Linked DNA regions of Homo sapiens: region 2 is linked to region 1. The links are contacts of gene promoters, found by promoter capture Hi-C in blood cells and fetal thymus (Javierre and others, 2016). All regions are on one chromosome and are shown on one strand. Each heading gives the region's core, a stretch centred on a gene start or on the middle of the fragment in contact. The rest is flanking DNA. Distances are from core to core; before and after follow the strand shown.

The links. The method cuts DNA at HindIII sites, captures the fragments that hold promoters and counts their contacts. A CHiCAGO score of 5 or more calls a contact.
Region 2: a fragment that was not itself captured here is called in contact with the fragment with the promoter of DNAJB2 in region 1 in 1 of 17 cell types (naive CD8 T cells); the score reaches 6.5 in naive CD8 T cells.

What each region holds. Positions count from the first base shown.
Region 1 is chr2:219,275,936-219,280,615 of GRCh38, reverse strand. It overlaps DNAJB2 (DnaJ heat shock protein family (Hsp40) member B2), which reads right to left and starts at 1,250. Exons shown (of 9, transcript NM_006736.6): 1 at 1,098-1,250; 2 at 718-818; 3 at 1-38. The coding sequence starts at 782. RefSeq lists silencers at 926-1,405, 2,647-2,849 and an enhancer at 2,426-3,130. The HindIII fragment of the contact is 26,435 bases long and covers 1-4,680 here.
Region 2 is chr2:218,243,315-218,247,994 of GRCh38, reverse strand. It overlaps ARPC2 (actin related protein 2/3 complex subunit 2), which reads right to left. Exons shown (of 11, transcript NM_152862.3): 8 at 2,449-2,575. TRY-ATA1-1 (tRNA-Tyr (anticodon ATA) 1-1) reads right to left here and starts at 2,169; the gene lies at 2,077-2,169. The HindIII fragment of the contact is 2,406 bases long and covers 661-3,066 here.

The sequences.
Region 1 (4,680 bases), core at 1-2,500:
TTTTGTCTGGGTGCCACTGGAGAGCCTTGCGCCGATACCTGCAGAAAGTGGGTGCAGAGGAGAGAGTCGGGGGACAAATGCAGGCACTTCCCACCCAGGAACCGAACGACCTGTTTTCCCATTAGCCTATCACTGTCCTTTCACCCCCGGGTCCCAGTCCACCCCAGCTGCTAGGGCTGCCGCTGCTGTGATATTTTCATCAAGTTCCACCCTCTCTCCTCCGCCACCAGTGCTGGGACCACATGTACAAGCGGATACAATGCCAGGGTCCCTAGCCCCTCCCTAGGGCTCACTGGACTGGGGCTGCAAAGGTTGGGGCACATGTGGCCTCGAAGAGTACAGGGACACCGGCCCCTCCTCCTCATAGAGCCTCTTTGCACTGCATCTTTGCACTGCAGCCTGAGAATGCCCAAATCTAGGGGGAAGGGGGAGGGGAGGGGAAAGGAGGAGGAGGAGGAGGAGGAGGGGAAGATCAACTGGAGAACAACCCATAACACAGTGCAGCTCCCAGAGGAACTAACTACTTCACTCTCTGGACGTTCTCCTTGTACTCTACCAGGGGTCTCTTTCCTCCCTGCAGGTGTCACTCGGAAGAAGCACCCCAGTGCTTTCTAACGACCTGGTTCCCTCAGACACCTACAGGTGTCACTCTGAAGTGCCCCATGGTGGTGGCGGGTGGAGGGTGAGAGGTCTTCTGTTGCATACGGAGGCACTTACGCCTTCTTGATGTCATCAGCGGACGCACTTCGCGGCACGTCTAGGATCTCGTAGTAGGATGCCATGGCAACTGGTCAGTCGTCAGGCGGGCCTCCTTGGGGCTGCAGAAGAGAAGGAGTCAGGCGGAAAGAACCAAGAGCCCCACCCTGTGGCTGCAGCAGTCCCCCTCCCCGGGTGGCGGAAGGCGCTCCCAGTTGGAAGCGGAGCACACCGGGCTCTGCTTGCGGCCGGTGACTAGGCTCCCTCCGGCAGCCTTATCTGCCCCCGCAGGCCGGGGCCAAGAGCTATCTCGACGCCCAGGCCCAGGAGCCCTATCGGGGCCCCCCAACTCCAGCAGTCCGATCCAGGGCCCCCAGCCTGACCCGGGCCCCCGGCCGCACCTCCTCCGCCAGGAGTCCCGGCCTCCTGCGGCGCCCCGCCCCTGCCCCCCGCCGGGAACCGTCTGGCACCCGCAGCCCGGCTCGCGGCTGCTGCGTAGGACGCGCCCGGCCCAGCTGTGCGCGCAGGCATGCGTCAGCGGTGCGGAAACTACTAGAGACGGGGAGAAGGCCGGCTCCGCCTGTCCCCTGGGGGGGTGGGGGCCTGCAGGGGCTGCCGGGAGAAGAGGGCGGAGCCGGCTATTTTGGGCACACACCAGGACGACGTCAGCCCCAGCTGGGACCTGGGAGACTGCGGCCCCGCCTCCATCCAAGCGAGAAGCGCTCGCACGGAGGCTGGGGCAGCCCACAAACAAGCCGCTCGGCCCCCAGGTTCCTCTGTCACTTTCTTATAAACATGAGCGATGATCCATGCTTACTCACCCACCTCGAGGACTCAGACTCTTCCCTCCCTCCCCCCACCACGGTTCTAACTCCTCCCCCTTCTTCAGCTCCCAGCTCCAGCCCCAGGTCCCCCAGCAGGCTGCCCTGGCTTTCCTGAGTAGGTCAGAACTGCCTTTTACAGCATCTCGTGGCATTTCCTTCATCAGGCTTGTTAGAGCCACAAATTAGCATTTATTGGTTTGATTATTTTTTATTACCATTCACCTCCCCCACTAGAATGTCGATTTCACAGGACAGGAATTGTGTGTTTTTTCTCACTGGTCTATTAGAGCAGTCGTAGGGGTTCAAAACTACCCGTGGGATGAATAAATAATGAACACCTGCAAACCTCTTGTTGACAGTTTTGACACATTTGGGGGAGGTGAGGTAAAGGGGGCCGTACAACGGAATTCCCCAGGTTCAAGTCTTCCCAAACTGATCCTGAGTAGGCCTATTCCACTTCAAAATGCTCCCTGGGTTCAGGCCTCATTGGAGAGTTAGGAAACCTTCCAGAACTGGCTCCTGCTTGATCCCATCCAGGCCAATCCAAAGGCGTTAGCTGAGCATTTTTCTGCATTCAAGATGCTGCCAGGCCGTATAAAGAAGAATGTGGCCCAAGCCCTGCCTTTGCAGAGCTTGAACTTGATAAGATACCAGCCCATCAGTGTAGCCCGCTGGGAAACCCGAGGCTTTGGAAACAGAGTACAACCTGGCATTACTGTGAGACTTGGGAAAATCTCTGAGCACTCTTTTTTTCTCACTAAATATAGGTAGTGCCTAGGGTTGTTTGAAAGTCAAATGAGACATGGTACGAATTAGGTGTTACTGCGGTCCTGCTGGCATCGTGATTGGCTCAAGCAATAATGGTTATGTGAGTCCAGAAAAGTGCTTTAGGCTGGGGGACCCAGGAATACTTCGCCAACGAGAAGGGTTTGAGGCGGACGTGAGAGAAGAAGGTGGTGTGAGTGTCCTGGTTTCCTGGCTGCCCACCATCAGAACCTCCTGCCTACATTTGGGGAATTCCCATCGCAAGGGCCCTAATGGAAAGCAGGCCACCATTTGCCACAAAGCCCCAATGCTTGCTCTCCCTGACTCGGCTCTGGGGTTGCAGGCAGAAGACATGAGCTCCGCCAATCGGATGCTCCAACTGGGACTTTGAATCTGGAGCAAGTCACGGAATAGCAAGGCTGGTTTAGGAATTCATTTCTGCGGCGGCGGTGGAGGCGATGGGGCCAACAGCGGCCTCTAGTGTCTGGAGGAGGAAGTGTCAGCGCTACTGCCGCAGGTGAGGGACGAGAGTAGGAGGATCACTGCGGAGGGTGGAGGGGACAGGAGTCTCCTACACAGGCTGTCCTGTGCCCAACCTTGACTGTGGTACTGGCTGCCCAGCTTCCCTAGGTGCCTGTCTGATTGCTGACCCTTGTTTGCTGGCCCTTGCATTGATTCTGTGTGCTATCCGATATCTCTATAATTGTTGGGGGCAGGGGACTTGAAACAATTTGCCAGTTAGCTTCTGCTGTTTATAAGAGTCCTGACTGACACAAAGACTAAGGGTTAGACTTGGTATAAGAGGAAGGAGTGGTTGGGTTAAGTCACTCCAAATTTTCCAGATCTCTGCCTTTTTCTTCTTACTCTGCTGTGCCAACAGACATTTGTCTAGCACCTACCGTGTATGTCTTGTTATATTAAGAAAAAGAATATAAAAAAGTTTAAATTCCAATCTCTGTGCTCAAGGGGATAGGACATAGACAAATGACAACTGAGGGAAATTATATGGAGCACATCTAGCAGACAAAGGTTTAATTTCCTTTGTCCACAAAGAAATGCCAACTAATGAAAGACAATGACATTTTTAAATGGACAAAGGGACAGGCAGCTCACAGAAGAGGAAATACTGGCTTTTAAACAAATGAAAAGATGCTCAATCTCATTCACAAAAAAACTGTAAACTAAAGCTACGACAGGCCAGGCATGGTGGCTCATGCCTGTAATCCCAGCACTTTGGGAGGCCAAGGCGGGTAGATCACCTGAGGTCAGGAGTTTCAGATCAGCCTGGCCAATATGGTGAAACCCTGTCTCTACCAAAAATACAAAAAGTAGCCAGGCGTGGTGGCACATGCCTGTAATCCCAGCTACTCGGCAGGCTGAGACGGGAAAATCACTTGAACCCGGGAGGCGGAGGTTGCAGTGAGCCAAGATCGTGCCATTGCACTCCAGCCTGGGCAACAAGAGTGAAACTCCATCTCAAATAATAATAATTTTTAAAAGAATAATAATAATAAAGCTACAACAAAATACTTTGGGGTTTTGTTTTTTGAGATGGAGTCTTGCTCTGTCATCCAGGCTCCAGTGCAGTGGCACTATCTTGGCTCACTGCAACCTCCCAGGTTCAAGCAATTCCCCTGCCTCAGCCTCCCAAGTAGCTGGGATTACAGGCATGTGCCACCACCCCTGGCTAATTTTTGTATTTTTTGTAGAGATGGGGTTTCACCATGTTGGCCAGACTGGTCTCAAACTCCTGGCCTCAGATGATCCTCCTGCCTCAGCCTCCCAAAGTGCTGGGACTATAGGCCAGAGCCACTGCACCCGGGCACATGGCCCTAACAAAATACTTTGTTTCACTTATTGGATGATTGACAAAGACAAAAAAAAGAAAAAAGTTGAATACATTGTATGGGCAAGGCTGAGGGCACAGGCATTCTTATAGATTGGTAGTGGGAGGGTGGGTAATTTGATGTGACTTTTTTTTTTTTTTTTTTTTTGAGGCAGAGTTTCACTCTTATTGCCCAGGCTGGAGTGCAATGGTGCAATCTTGGCTCACGGCAACCTCTGCCTCCCGGGTTCAAGCAGTTCTCCTGCCTCAGCCTCCCAAGTAGCTGGGATTGCAGGCGTGAGCCGCCGTGCCCGGCCTGGTGTGACTTTTAAAGAGAGCAAGATTTAAAATGCATAATCTTTGACCCAGAAATCTCAATTCTAAGAATGTATGGTCATATATATGTGCAAAAAAAATACATACAAGGGTTGCAGCATTCTTTTTAATAGCAAAAGATTGGAAACAATCTAAATACCCGTTAATAGCAGACTGGTAAAACAAGTGTTGGTATGCTATACGATGGAATATTATATTGTGACCAAATAGAATGAGGCATAGCTAACAGTATTC
Region 2 (4,680 bases), core at 614-3,113, 1.0 Mb after region 1:
AGCCTGGCCAACATGGAAACCCTGTTTCTTTTTTTTTTTTTTAATTTTTTTTGAGACGGAGTCTTGTTCTGTCGCCCAGGCTGGAGTGCAGTCGCGTGATCTTGGCCTATTGCAAGCTCCGCCTCCCAGGTTCACGCCATTCTCCTGCCTCAGCCTTCAGGGTAGCTGGGACTACAGGCACCCACCACCACGCCCAGCTAAGTTTTTGTATTTTTTGTAGAGATGGGGTTTCACTGTGTTAGCCAGGATGGTCTCGATCTCCTGACATCGTGATCCACTTGCCTCGGCCTCCCAAAGTGCTGGGATTACAGGCGTGAGCCACCGTGCCCAGCTGGAAACCCTGTTTCTACTGAAAATACAAAAATTAGCCGGGTGTGGTGGCACACGCCTGTGGTCCCAGCTACCTGGGAAGCTGAGGCACGAGAATTGTTTGAGCCTGGGAAGCAGAGGTTGCAGTGAGCCGAGATCACACCACTGCACTCCAGCCTGGGTGACAGAGAGAAAGAAAAAAGAAAAAAGTGTATAGTTTAGATTTAATGAAATTTGGTAAATCAACAGATTCATCACCAATAAACAGGTTCACCTTTACCACTGAGGTGAATTAAATTACATTTCACAAAGGAGACATTCCAGTGGCATTGGGTGCAGTGTGAACAAGCTTATTAATTCCAAACTGTAAGCTATCATAATCAGCCAGTGCATGAGGCTGGAGCAACTGAAGGAAGACCTGAATTTATTCCGCGAAAAAGTGGAGTAAGTGGATCACGGCTGGAGCTTGGGCTTAATAAGCAAAAAACCAAGAATTGCCAAATGACAGAGAACCCCCATCTAGCTGCTTAGGTGGTTCTCTTCTTAACTCCTTTTTTTGGTGAGATAGGGTCTCACTCTGCCACCCAGGCTGGAGTGTAGTGGTGCCATCACAGCTCACTGCAGCCTCTACCTCCTGGGTTCAAGTGATCCTCTCACCTCAGCCTCTCAAGTAGCTATGACTACAGTCATGCACCACCATGCCTAGTTATCTTTTTTTTTGAGACAGTCTCCCAGGCTGGAGCGCAGCAGGATGATCTCGGCTTGCTGCAACCTCCACTTTCTGGGTTTAAGCAATTGCCATGCCTCGCTTGCCCGAGTAGCTGGGACTATAGACTATAGGCACATGTCACCATGTCCAACTAATTTTTGTATTTTTAGTAGAGGTGTGGTTTCACCATGTTGGCCAGGTTGGTCTCGAACTTCTGACCTCAAGTGATCTGCTCGCCTTGGCCTCTTAAAGTGCTGGGATTACAGGTGTGAGCCACTGTGCCTGGCCCCTTGCTTTTTGTAGAGATGAGCCTGCACCATGTTATCCAGGCTGGTCCCAAACTCCTGGACCCAAGTGACCCACCAACCTCGGACTCCCAAAGTGCTGGGATTACAGGTATGAGCCACTGTGCCCCGCCTATCCTTTACTCTTTTCTTTTTTCTTTTTGAGACAAGGTCTCACTCTGTCATCCAGGCTGGAGTGCAATGGTGTGATCTCAGCTCACTGCAACCTCCGCCTCCTGGGTCCAAGGGATTCTTGTGCCTCAGCCTCCCGAGTAGCTGGGATTACAGGCGCACACCACCACGCCCAGCTAATTTCTTTGTTATTTTTTTGGTAGAGACGGAGTGTTTCACCATGTTGGTCAGGCTGGTCTCGAACTCCTGACCTCAGGTGATCTGCCCATGTTGGCCTCCCACAGTGCTAGGATTACAGGCGTGAGACACCGCACCCAGCCTCAACTCTTTTTTTTTTTTTTTGGAGACAAGAGTCTTGTTCTGTTGCCCAGGCTGGAGTCCAGTGGCACGATCTCAGCTCATTACAACCTCCACCTCCCGGGTTCAAGCAATTCTCCTGCCTCAGCCTCTGGAGTACCTGGGACTACAGACGTGCGCCACCATGCCCAGCTAATTTTTTTTTGTATTTTAGTAGAGACAGAGTTTCACCACATTGGCCAGGATGATCTTGATCTCCTGACCTCGTGATCCACCTGCCTTAACCTCCCAAAGTGCTGTGATTACAGCCATGAACCACCGTGCCCAGCCAAAACTGTACTTGTCTCCTTCAAGCTGGAATCGAACCAGCAACCTAAGGACGTCTCCTACTGAGGAAGTAGCTATAGTCCTCTGCTCTACCAGCTGAACTATTGAAGGGACCTTAACTCTTGATATCAGAATTCAGTCTTATTTTTAAGATTTAAGAAAAATGGGGAAAAAAAGGAAAGGATTACTGTACAAAAATAGCATATGGCCTGCTCTGTAATTAATACCCTGTGACATCCCTCCTTTAGTCACTGCAATGGCAACAGGAACAAGTTGGTATGCCTGCGTTTGCCTACCTTAAAATGTTAACCAAGGTTCTGTGCAGATTTAGGTATTCTGCTGTGTGAACTCATTAAAGCGGCACAAAAGCAGCAAGTGCACCCTGCTCACCAAAGGTAATGTAGCCAATGTTGTCACCCACAGCGGCGTCTGTGTCTTTCAGCTCCAGAGGAGGTTCCCTGTGGCTAAAGAGGACCTGTGGGGCTGTGTGGCTGGCTCTGCGTCCTTCTTTGAACTCCTGCCAAGACAAAGCAAAAGCAACCAGAAGAGAAGTGGGTGTAAGATGAGTGGCAACTCAAGCTATAGGGTTTGTTCTATGTGGTGTGACCTTTGTAGCCCTCCAGACCAGCAGGAGGTTAAAAATAAACTACACCAAACCTGAAATATGACAAGTGCTAGCTGCTACCACTACACTTCAGATTCAAACGGGAGAGACTGCAAAGTACTTAATAAGTCAGATCTTCAAAATGTGATGAAAAGTAGTGATAATCCTTTTCCTTTGCACTAACATAGGTGATAAACTACCATACTTTCTCTGGGCTCTGGGACTTTGCATGAGTCTTTTTTCACTGAGGATCCTGTTGCTATTTAGAATTCATCAATAAAATCTTTAGAGCAAACTTAAGCTCTTCTTGCGGACAGAAGACAATGGAATGAAAGAAGCTGAGTTGTCTTGGTGCTCATAAAGGAAGCCCTTCCTTCTATGTTCCAATCTCCAAACCTGAAGCTTCTACAGTCCATACATTCCTATGTAAATAGACAAGTAATACAAGGCTTCTCTCTCTCAGCCAGATCTGCAAGAACAGAAGTAGATTTTCTAGCAATGCCAGTAAAACTGGATAATCCAAATTCATCAAGTGGGCCTTCCAAGATGATAGACAGCAGGAGGATGCTGCCAAGGACTCTCCAAGGTCTCTTGTTTTAGGAGTTCTGAAGGCATGGTTACACAGCCATGTGGCCTGCGTGCCCTTCTACTGCTGCTCAAATACTGCCTCCTAATACCATCTCCAACAAACCCAGGCAGGTACTGCTCTCTTGCTGGAGCTGCCATGTCTTTTCTACAAACCTCTACTATGATATTTTACCATTCATTAATGTATCTGGCTCCCCTACCAGGTTATGAGTTCAAATCAAAGATCCTGCTTAATTTATCTTTGTAATTTATTCTTCTGTCTTTCAAAGAGGCTATGCAGCACATGCCTTGCTGAGAGAAAGCAAGTGCTTCTACCCTAGCTGGTTTAGTATCATCACACTGTACAGGAATAGGCAAGGGCTGTTTCCAGTTGCAGGCAGGAAGAATAAACACTGATTAGCAAGCCCTCTCGACAATTAGTGGCAAAAGAAAGATGATGGCTGAGGAGCCCCAATGCCCAGCCTGGGACCTCACCTATTTCACAAACTGCCTCTCATGCTAACACTACCAAGCTTTAAGTAGGAAAAGAAATGACCATCAACTGGGTTAGATTAGTCCCCTTTTGAACAGATTTTGTTCCCCGAAGGAAAAATATCCAAAAAGGAAGGGAAGGAGTCAAGATTATCCCAAATGGAAATTTCTAGAGCAAAGCTTCTAAAATCGCCCTTCTCTAGAAAACATTTTTTATTCTACAAAGGGGTTAAGAAGCTTTTTAACTTTTACTGGTTTTACTTTTCGGTATTAAGGAATTAAACAGAACAGATACGTAACTGTTGGCATTTTCTTGTGTCTGTTAAGTGTCTCCAAGGCTCTAATTCACAGGTACATGTGGTATTCACAATGAGATGGGGTATTTATAAACCAGTGGTGACTTATTAGCACTCATTAGTTTTGTATATGGAAAATAACATATTTAAGGCTCGGTCAACGATACGTTTCTGGCTTGGGCCTATTCTTTCTTTCTTTTTTGAGACAGGGTCTCACTCTGTCACCCAGGCTGGAGTGCAGTGGCGTGATCTTGGCTCACTGCAACCTCCACCTCCTAGGTTCAAGTGATTTTCATGTGTCAGCCTCACGAGTAGCTGAGATTACAGGCGTGTGCCATCATTCCCGGCTAATTTTTGGCCTTTAAAGTAGAAACAGGGTTTCACCATGTTGGCCAGGCTGGTCTCAAACTGGCCTCTAGTGATCCACCTGCCTAGGCCCCGCAAAGTGCTGGGATTACAGGCGTGAGCCACTGTGCCTGACTGGGACTATTCTTTAGATTCTCTGATGTCTTTGCTTCTCCTCAGTTCTCTCTCCTAAATAAAGCTTAAACAAACAAACACACCCAAACAGCCCTCCATCTTCATTGGCATCTTTGTTATACGTAATCAAGCAATATTGCCTTTTTACTCTCCTTCTGGCTAGGATGTCTTTTGAGCATCAGA